Regions from separate parts of the Homo sapiens genome. Here region 1 is linked to region 2. The links are contacts of gene promoters, found by promoter capture Hi-C in human tissues and cell types (Jung and others, 2019). All regions are on one chromosome and are shown on one strand. The core of a region is centred on a gene start or on the middle of the fragment in contact, and the rest is flanking DNA. Distances in the headings are between cores, read along the strand shown.

What was found. The method cuts DNA at HindIII sites, captures the fragments that hold promoters and counts their contacts. A contact is called where the count stands out against the background at its distance.
Region 1: a fragment that was not itself captured here is called in contact with the fragment with the promoter of PDE8B in region 2 in 2 of the 25 tissues and cell types used here (hippocampus and mesenchymal stem cells).

Annotation. Positions count from the first base shown.
Region 1 is chr5:77,268,408-77,273,984 of GRCh38, forward strand. The region is part of intron 1 of PDE8B (phosphodiesterase 8B); the gene reads left to right. Among named protein-coding and RNA genes, the nearest start is that of PDE8B, 61 kb to the left of the region's middle. The HindIII fragment of the contact is 3,319 bases long and covers 1,625-4,943 here.
Region 2 is chr5:77,208,451-77,213,897 of GRCh38, forward strand. It overlaps PDE8B (phosphodiesterase 8B), which reads left to right and starts at 2,230. Exons shown (of 22, transcript NM_003719.5): 1 at 2,230-2,814. The coding sequence starts at 2,476. The HindIII fragment of the contact is 4,534 bases long and covers 237-4,770 here.

The DNA of each region.
Region 1 (5,577 bases), core at 2,034-4,533, 61 kb after region 2:
ACTATAATCACCCTGTTGTGCTATCAAATACTGGAGCTTATTCATTTTATTTTACTATATTTTTGTACTAATTAACCATCCCCAGTTCCTGCCCCACCCCCCCACTACTCTTCCAAGCTTCTGATAACCATCATCCTACTCTCTGTCTCTATGAATTCAATTGATTTAATTTTTAGCTCCCACAAATAAGTGAGAACATGTGATGTTTGTCTTTCAGTGCTTGGCTTATTTCACTTAACATAATGACTTCCAGTTCCATCCATGTTGTTGCAAATGACAGGCTCTCATTCCTTTTTACAGATGAATAGTACTTCATTATGTACTTCAGTAGTATTCCTAACTATCCATCAACAGATGATTGGATAAAGAAAATGTGGTAACTCTCTTCTAACTATCTCCTAACTATCCATCAACAGATGATTGGATAAAGAAATGTGGTAACATTTTCTTTATCCAATCATCTGTTGATGGATAGTTAGGTCATTTCCAAATCTTAGCTCTTGTGAATAGTGCTATAATAAACATGGCAGTGCAGCTATCTTTTCAATATACTGATTTCCTTTCTTTTGGGTATATACCCAGCAGTGGGATTGCTGGATCATATGGTAGCTCTATTTTTAGTTTTTTGAGAAACCTCCAAACTGTCCTTCATAGTGGTTGTACTGTAATAATTTACATTCCCACCAACAGTGTACGAGGGTTCCCTTTCCGCCACATCCTCGCCAGCATTTGTTGTTGCCTGTCTTTTGGATTAAAGCCATTTTAACTGGGGTGAGATGATATCTCATTGTAGTTTTCATTTGCATTTCTCTGGTGATCAATGATGTTGAGCATCTTTTTATATACCTGTTTGCCATTTGTATTTCTTTTTTGAGAACTGTCTATTCAGGTCTTTTGCCCATTTTAAATGGGATTATTAGATTTTTCCTATAGAGTTGTTTGAGCTCCTTATATATTTTGGTTATTACGCTCTTGTCAGATGGTTAGTTTGCAAATATTTTCTCCCATTCCGTGGGTTGTCTCTTCACTTTGTTGATTGTTTCCTTTGCTGTGCAGAAGCTTTTTAACTTGATATGATCCCATTTATCCATTCTTGCTTTGTTGCCTGTGCTTGTGGGGTATTACTCAAGAAATCTTTGCCCAGTCCAATGTTCTGGAGAGTTTCCCCAGTGTTTTCTTTTAACGGTTTCATAGTTTGAGGTCTTAGATTTAAGCCTTTAATCCATTTTGATTTGATTTTTGTATATGGTGAGAGATAGGGTTCTAGTTCCATTCTTCTGTATATGGATATCCAGTTTTCCTAGCACCCATTAAAGAGATTGTCCTTTCTTCAATATATATTCTTGGCACCTTTGTTGAAAATGAGTTTACTGTAGATGTATGGATTTATTTTTGGGTTCTCTATTCTGTTCCATTGCTCTATGTGTCCGTTTTTATGCCAGTACCATGCTGTTTTGGTTACTATAGCTCTGGAGTATGATCTGAAGTCAGGTAATGGGATTCCTCCAGTTTTGTTCTTTTTGTTCAGGATAACTTTGGCTATTCTGGGTCTTTTGTGATTCCACTTAAATTTTAGGATTTTTTTCTCTATTTCTGTGAAGAATGTTGTTGGTATTTTGCTAGGGATTGCATTGAATCTGTAGATTGCTTTGGGTAGTATGGACGTCTTAACAGTATTAATTCTTATAATCCATGGACATGGAATATCTTTTCAATTCTTAGTATCCTCTTCAATTTCTTTCATCAGTGTTTTACAGTTTTAATTGTAGAGATCTTTCACTTATTTTGTTAATTCCTATGTATTTTATTTGTAGCTATTTTAAATGGGATTACTTTTTGATTTTTACACTGTCCACTGTTTGCATACAGAAATGCTACTGATTTTTGTACGTTGATTTTGTATCCTGTAACTTTACTGAATATGTTTATCCATTCTAATAGTTTTTTGGTGAAATCTTTAGGTTTTTCCAAGTATAAGACCATATCATCTGCAAACAAGAATAATTTGACTACTTCCTTTTCAATTTGGATGCCTTTTATTTCTTTCTCTTGTCTGGTTGCTCTAGCTGGTAATTCCCCATATTCCCTCTTACCGTTCACTTCTGCCTCTGCTTTGTGCCCTTAGCACTGGAGCTACATCTTAAGAGGTGGGGTGACATGTTGATGGTATTTGGCTGAGGGACCCTGAAGCTTCTGGATCTTGCTTGTAATTGTCCACTCTGTTCAACAAGATACCTAGGGGGCATGTGTGCACAGAAGATAGTGATTTTTCCGGGCTCTTGTTATTAAACCTTGGCCCCACACTCTTAATATGGAACACTGCTTTGGCAGAAGGAAGAGCTAACCAGAGATACCACTTCCTTCTGGGAAGAAGCAGCAGGGCTGGGAGAATCCTAGCCCAGACTTTCTCTGGAAGCTGCTCCAGCTCCTGACCAGGCTTATCTTACCAGCCGGGTGGGAGTTAGGAGGACTCCGGAGTCACACAGAAAGCCAAAAATCTCCTGAAAACAATACCCTTTCCAGTGTAGATCCTAGGCTCACCCCTCATTGTTCACTCAGGAATTAAGGCAGCTCTGGGGGTAACCCCATTTATGGAATCCATGCAATGATGGCATTGTGGGGGACACTGGCTAAGCTCCCAAGGGGATGTGCTATAACTGCATCGCAGTGGCTAGGCCCCACCCTTCTCATGCCTCTTCCCAGGTCACTATGGTGATGAGTCACTAATATCAAGAAGTAAAGAAGAATGGCAGTTTATAAAAGACCATAAGATCTCCCTATTCCAGGATCAATGGTACATATGGTTCCTTTTCTTTCTTCTTTGTCTTACTTGTCCTTTAAAACCTCCATTTGAGAGCTGCCTCTTCCAGAAAGCCTTCCTTGACCACCTCCAGCTGAAGTCTGGTTTGGAGCTATCTTCTCTGAGCTACTACTTGCCACCCTGGAAGGCTGTGGCTGGTACGTGATCTTGAGAAAGTAGTTCCCTAGCTTTGTGGGAGTGGAATCTAGATGACAAATGGTTAAGGAGTTGGGGATAGGGGTGTAGATGGGACAGCCAAGGCTGATACCTTTCAAATTTCAGGTTGAACTGTGGAATGAAGAAGGTAGTGACTGAAGGTCACTGGGGAAGTTTATTTATTTGTTTTTTGATGTGAAGAACTTTTTTTTAAGGCAGAGAAGAGGAGTATTGGAAACATTAGTAAAATAGGGAATAATCAACAGGTCATGGCCCAGGAGGAGGCCAGAAGAAGTGGAATCAATAACAGATGGAAGGAAGTGAAAGGGAAGACACAGAGGGAGCTCTGGCTGGACATCCCCAAAGTTGTTCAACAATGGGAGCCACTGTTTCTTGAAAGTTGACTAGATGCTGGATAGTCCTTATACATTCTCATCTGATTTCCACAGCAGCCACTTCACATTCTACGGATGAGAAAACCGAGGCTTATAACAGGTTCTTCAGGTGGTACATGTTGGGGAGGGATGTGAATGTAGTCAGTGCAACTTGCAGAATCTGCTCTACCAGAGTCTTACTTCTCAAAGTGTGGTCCTCGGAACAGTACCACCTGGGAGCCCATTAGAAATGTCAACTCTCAGCCACATCCTCAGACCAACTGAAACAGACCTGCGATGTTTACATATGTTTAGGTCTGGAAACCCTGGTCTAAACTTCTGCCCCTTGTTCTCCTTGAAGTGTTAGATGTTGGCTTGGCTCCCTGCTTAGGGTAAGGTTATTGGAGCATGCCGAGGGCAGAGGCTTGAGGGTAGAGGGGAACAGCAAATCATGGGAATGTGATGGAATGTATTAAGAGAGAGCTTCTAGAAGGTTATGATATCTATTAGTTCACAGGTTATGGCTAAACTGGTAATGACTTCATTTAAGTTGATATCATTGTACTTTGCAGAGAGAACAGCCAAGTAACCTTGGTTGACTCTGGTTGTTCTAATATTCTTAGCTATCCATTCTCTTGGGAGGGTCAAACCACAGCTGGCTGATCTGTTATCAAAGGATTTGTGGTGCCTCGAACATGTCCTGTTATTTCACAATCAGTGCCCTTTGTACATATGGTTCCTTTTATTTCTTCTTTGTCTGACTTGTCCTTTAAAACCTCCATTTGAGAGCTGCCTCTTCCAGAAAGCCTTCCTTGACCACCTCCAGCTGCAGTCTGGTTTGGAGCTATCTTCTCTGAGCTACTGCTTGCCACCCTGGAAGGCTGTGGCTGGTATGTGATCTTTAAAGGACTTAGCATGGTACCTGGCACATAGTAAGTGCTCAATAAGCACTAGCTTCTATTATTAGCCCAGAAGTAGGAATAAAAACAGTTAAGAGTAGAACACATGGTTCAGAGGGCAGCATAGTATAAAGGGGGCAAAAATAACCGAAGGTCCTAGCAAGAGCCATATGGAAGTGGTCAACTAGGAGGTTTCTGTGCTGGGAAGGGAGGGTGAGAAGGCAAGAGAGAGGCAGTAGAAAGTTCATTATTTTTTAATGTATTTTTATTGTGTATATTTAAGGAGAGAAAGTGATGTTTTGATATACCTATGCATAGAATGATTTTGAATGGGCCTAATTGCTACGACGTCAGTTACAAGACGGAGGAGAAAGAAGACAAGACATGAATTTAAAGAAACTTGCTTATCCAAATCATTCTTCTTTTAAGAAAGCTTTGTATTCATTATAGCTGATTATAAGAGTTAGGACAAATTTATGATGTGGCAGACTTGTGTTTTAGCTTATTAGTGTGTCTCTGTGCTGCACTGAAGCCCTTGTCATCACTGCAGTGTACGTAGCTCCCATTTATGTACTTTCTATAGAATCTGAAGCCTAATTTTAACATTGTATCGTTTTTTATAGTTATTGACACTTTGCTTCTATCCTATCAATTCTATCTGTAATTTATTTCAAATCAATTTCTTGAACAGGCAGGTAATAGCCTATTATATTATTTTTCCTATGGGAAAATATGATCGTTTATTAATTTGGTTTTTTAAAATTTACTAAACATCTATTACCCAGAAAGCACTATAGAAAATGCTTTTGAGAGATGCAGTTATGAACTAGCAATCGCCCTTGTCCTTCAGGAAGCTGACAGGCTAGGAGGGGAGATATGATAGGTAGAGATGACTTTAAACACAACAATGTGAGATGCTGTAAGAGAGGCAGGGTAGTACACTTACTGAGGAAGAATAACTTGCTTTTGCCTGGGGACAGGAGTACAGGATAAAAGCTTTGAGGCAAAGGCAGTGGTTCAACTTGACCTTGAGATTTTGTCTGGGTTTGACAGGAAGAAATAGGGCAAAAGCCATTTGAGGTGGACAAAATAGTATATAAAAAATAAAGTTTGATTTTTATTAACACAATGGTGAAAAGAGAGAACTTCCAGGTAGTTCCATCTGTTTTTTTTTTATTTATTTTTTATTTTTTATTTTTTTTTGAGATGGAGTTTCATTCTTGTTGCCCAGGCTGGAGTGCAATGGCATGATCTTTGCTCACTGCAACCTCCGCCTCTTGAGTTCAAGCAATTCTCCTGCCTCAGCCTCCCGAGTAGCTAGGATTACAGACATGCGCCACTATGCCCG
Region 2 (5,447 bases), core at 980-3,479:
CTAGTATAGAGACTAGTGTTTTTGCAATTTAACTCTGATGTTGTTTTCCCAGGTCCTAAATTGTCCTTTGGAAGTAGAGCAGATGGTTGCTATGAGGCTTAGTTTTAAATGAATGACTGTCCCCATATCTCAGTCTCAGCCATTTAATGTGGTGTTCTTACAGGCATGGATGGGACAAGGAAACATGGATCTCAGCAGCCTGGAAGGGAACTGTGGGTGGAGGCTATGATGCCAGGAAAGGACTTACTCCTCCAGCTACTGGGAGTGCTGCCAGCAGAAAGCCCTTGGCTCAGCTGACATCTCCTAGGGGCAGTGCCTCAGCTGAAGAGAGCCACCTTGCCCAAGGTCGCTGAGGTGGCCTGCATGTAAAGACTGGTCCATGCTGGGGTATAAAGGCCCACCAGAACAACTCAGAACCCAGCCCCAACTCAGAACAACTCTGAAGCATCATCCCACCTTCAGAATCCTCCCTGCAGGGATGCCTGAGGCTTGGTCAATTTCTCCCTCTGCTCAAGCTTGCCTCCCTCCATTCCCTCCCTTTATTTCCTCCCACAAATGTTGACTACAAGAGCACTTCCTAAAAAGCCTCCCTCTGCCTGCTAAACACCATCTCAGAATCTGCTTCTAGGAGGACCCAACCTGTGCAGAAATTTTATGAGCAATTTGCCTGTCCATTAAAAAATACAGCATAGACTTTTTCCAGGTTAGCTGGAGATGGAGTTTTTTTGTATCAAAAAAAGAGAGCTAAACTGAGAAGAGAAGCAAAGGTAGAAGAATAAGGTTAGACTCTCCCTGTATAACTGAATTTGGGATTGGGAATGATATCTTGCTTCTCTATGAAATTTAGAAACTGTCTTTTGAAGTCTTCATCCAGTCACATCCAAGAGTGGTCCAGGAAGAAAAAGGAAAATAAGAATGAAAAAAAAACAAAAAACAAACCTTAAAATTGGATACTTCTTTGTGCCTTGCATTAAGCCTCTATGTTACTGCCCTTGTCCGTATAAGCAACTCTAGATAAAATCCTTTCTTAGACCATCTAATTTATCTCCCCGTGCCATTGTGAAAATCGGGCAGGAATTACTGCGGGAACCAGTGACTGAATGGGCAGTGGTGTCTCGCAGCTGTAACTCAGAGTTTACAAGGGAAGGATGAACAGCAGCCATCCTTCTAAAGGCATTCTTCCTCTCCTCCAGCACAGCTCAGTCTGTGCATGCCTCACCAAGGAGAATGAGGGAAGGCCTTGTTGACTGCCCAGCCCAGAGTGTGAGGAACAGCAGTTGACATGGGCGGCTGGACGGGATAGAAACCAGCATGAACATTTAGTGACACCTAAGGAAGAGGTGAAAATGGGGGAGAAAGCCAAGAACCATCAGACAGCTTCTTTCTGTTCTTGCCTTGGATCTTAGGGGAACGTATGTGTTCAAGGGTGCCTTCCTCCGCAGGGCCTCCCATCCCTTGGCACAAACTTCCAAACGATGAGTAGACATGGAATGGGCTTCTTCTGAAGACTGGGTCACCATCCAACTCAGCCTTCGGAGTAGGCGGTGGGGCTGGGGGAAGAGGACGGAACCATGAGGTCTCTCCATCACTTCCCGGGTGTGTTGAGAGGCAAGCAAATGCGGTGGGTGGGCCTGGGCTGTAGGGCCCCTGCCATTTCGGGAGGGGCCTCCTGGTGTTTAGCTCTGGGATGTGTGAAAATGTGTTGGTGAAAAGCGAGAGGCTTACACAGCCCTTCAGGGGAAGAGGGGCTGGGGCGCTGGGGGCGGCGTCGGGATGAGTGCAGAAGAGACGAGGCCTCTGGACAGCGGAGGAGGAGGGGAGGGCGCCGAGGCGCGGTGCCAGCTGCCGCGCACAGGGGCCCCGCGGCGGAGCCGAGCCGCGGGCACGCTCTGCCCTGTCGGGAGAGCTCCGGGAGCGGCGGGAGGGGCGGAGGGGCGCAGTGGGGCCCGGGCGGCTGCGGCCGCGGAGCCGGGGCACCTGAGGAGGAAGGAGGGTGGGAGCGAGGGAGGGAGGGGACGGGCGCAGACCGAAAGTGGGGAAAGAAGGTGCAGGCAGGCGGGCAGGCGGGCGGGCGCCCTGGCCCAGGGCCGCGGGTGCGGGAGCCCGGCGAGGTCGAGCTGGGCGGCGGCGGGGGCCGCGCCGAGGGAGGAGGGGAAGGCGGAGGCGCGGGGAGCGTGTTTGGGGCGCCGCGGCGGGGAGGGTGGCGGCCGCTGGTGCGCGCGGGGCGCTGTGTATGCGCGCTCCCCCGCTCGGGGAGGAAGATGGCCCAAAAGGGAAAGTTGGGGTGACGCGCGCGGTCCCCGGAGGCTCGGCGGGGGGCACCGCGGCCAGCCCGACGGAGCGGCGGACACACAGGCCGGGGGGCGCGCAGTCCGGGCGCCGCCGCGGCCGCCCCCTCACTGCAGGTGGCAGCGGGTGCGCTGGGTCCCGGCGGCCGCGGGCGCGGGCGGGCGCGCGGGGGAGCCCGGCCGAGGGATGGGCTGCGCCCCCAGCATCCATGTCTCGCAGAGCGGCGTGATCTACTGCCGGGACTCGGACGAGTCCAGCTCGCCCCGCCAGACCACCAGCGTGTCGCAGGGCCCGGCGGCACCCCTGCCCGGCCTCTTCGTCCAGACCGACGCCGCCGACGCCATCCCCCCGAGCCGCGCGTCGGGACCCCCCAGCGTAGCCCGCGTCCGCAGGGCCCGCACCGAGCTGGGCAGCGGTAGCAGCGCGGGTTCCGCAGCCCCCGCCGCGACCACCAGCAGGGGCCGGAGGCGCCACTGCTGCAGCAGCGCCGAGGCCGAGACTCAGACCTGCTACACCAGCGTGAAGGTAAATGCCCCGCGCTGGCACACGCCGTGGGGGCCGTCCGCCCCGTCGGCGGGGCTCGCACGGGTAGGGGGCTCCGGCGGAGTTGGGTGACCGTGAGGCGGTTGGTTTGGAGAGGTTGTCACTAAGGAGGAGTTTACTTTTCATTTGTGGAGATGATGGGAGCCCAGGAAATGTGGTCAGAAAAAGGCCCCTGGAGGGGTCCTGGAAGCGTCCTTAGCTGGTCCTGGGGGACTGGGCGGGGAAGGGAGCGCAGAAGGAAGCAGGTGGGCTGGCCTGTTCCTCCTTGAGGGCAGGAAGGCTGTGGCTTGGTTTATGCAGGAAGAGGGGTGGGGACCATTGAGAGCATTCGGTGGCCAGTCCTGTTGAATGAAATCTGAGCACTGAGCTGGATTTGCGTGCCTTGTAGGTGACTGGTGCAGTTGCAGCACCAGGATAGATAGTGCCCCATATTCCGATTTTTACCTGGGATTACCAGCCAGGCTGGAGTCTCAGCACAGGAACCGAGCGTAGGGATTTGTGAATGAATGAGTGTTCGTGTTTTAAGAGATGTGGGAACGGAGCAGAGTGGAACCTGTTGTTTGTCACTGTAACGTTTCTCTGGGTTGGCTGCATCCTAGACAGAATTGAGAGAACCGGGCCATGAGTTCGGAGTGTCAGCAGAGCCACCGTGAGGGGACGTGGTTTCCAGTGCAGTACAGCTGTCTGAGGATGATTCTGCACATACAACTGATCTTCCCAGAGAGTGGGATTTTGAGGAAGTGGAAAAAATTGTTTAGATGGTTAAAGCAGTCGCTAAATATTTATTTCTTAAAGACAGAAGAAAAATAATTATTTAAATAGTGTCCTCCCGTATGTTCTCAAAGTACCGTTAAATCCAAGAGGCTTTTCATTGTGTAAATCTGGGCACTGGGTCTTTTTTCCTTTCAGCAAACAAGATAACAATGGCATATCCTATTGTACAGAGAGAAAAAAATACTCCTAATGTCAGATAGAATCACAGCCTTTACCTGGTCAATAGGTTACCAAGAACCATTCCATGGATTATTTGTCAAAGACACATTTGTATTTTTAATAGTTAAAAACTTGGTCTTCATTGGATGAAGGCAGCCCACAGTGGAGGAGTGAGGAGAAGGATAACATGTTTTGGCTTCAATCTGGAAGTCCAAAAGTTTTTTAATGAACCTATTTTTTTTTTAACAGCATCTGATTGTTTAACATGAAGCTTGACTGATGTTTGCTTGTGGTTGCAGTGTTTCTCTGGCAGTAATCATAATCACCATTATAGTAAAAACATCGTTTATTGAGCACCTACTATGTGCCAGGAGTAAGCTTTCTCTCCTAACTATTGAATGTTAACAGTGTGATCTTAGCATAGCATGTCTGAAGACTAGAGTCTAGGATTTATGACAGTACAAACCTACCAGTTGCCCATTCGTTACAGAGGCATGTGCTGAACGCTATACTTTGCTTTTGTCAAGCTCTCTCTCTCTCCCCCTCCCTGTTCACACAAAGTTAGCTTTAGGAGCAATTTTCAGGGATGAAAATGTTAAATTTGGTGAAAATATTAAGTTGGGATATTATCAGTAAAGACCATCCTTTTGCCTGACGGTTGAAGACCTGAAGCAGTAGTTCAAAATTGTGACAGCTCATGAACTTTGTGATACTTTTTTTGGTTGCTCCAGAGAAATTGTGAATTTTTGTTTTCTAGAATATCTATAATCTCAGTTTAGTACTTGGCAACTCTAGCTACTCCATGTTTGTTCAGTAGAAGAAAGAATACTGAATGAACCCATTCTGTACATTTTTAATACTTCCCTCAAGAGGCTGCTTAGAGACCAAATGAAGTAAAAACTGAAGGGACAATGAGCCCCAATTATTAGCAGCTTGTATAAACTTGTATTAATCTCATTGCTACTTGGCTTAAGTATTAAAAGGCTTGACCTGGGTAGGAGTTTAACTCATTTTGCTTTATCAAGAAGATTCCCAAATAAGAGCTTAATTCACTCTAACCCATTACTGGGAATGTTGGAAATGAAACCCCTGGTTCATTGACTTAACACTACTTTGCATTGTGTGGATCTCAGAAAGTATATATTTGAAGTGAAATTTGAGACCAGAGTTATTTATGCAAATCTTACAGAATTATTATCACAGAACTGCCCTAATATATTTAATAGTATCCTTTTAGGCCTGTGACTCGGTGTTGTATTGTCTTTTCTCAATCGTAAAGTTCACATGTTCTGTGCCCTTTTGTTGCTGAGATAATTTTATAAAAACTTTACATTCATTTTTTTGTAGACTAAGCATTCTTTTTTTGCCGTAAGAGTTTGAGATAGTTGCTAGGCACGTGGTGGTGCCCCACCCCTTTCCAAAGCACACAGGTGGAAAAATAAAATCTTTACCATTTGGTCCTGTTTACAGTGGTGGAAGGTTGTAATAGTTTCCACCCCCTCCCCCTGGCCATTTTACATCAATTATGAAGTGTATCCTCATTATCTACTTGGCCTCTGGTATTCCCCAGAGTGCAAAAATGTGTGCTTGATCTCTCTCTCTCTCTTTTCTAGCAATAATTCATCTCATTAAGCTTTTAGAATGATGAGGCATTATGATGTCAAACATGATGTCAACAGGAA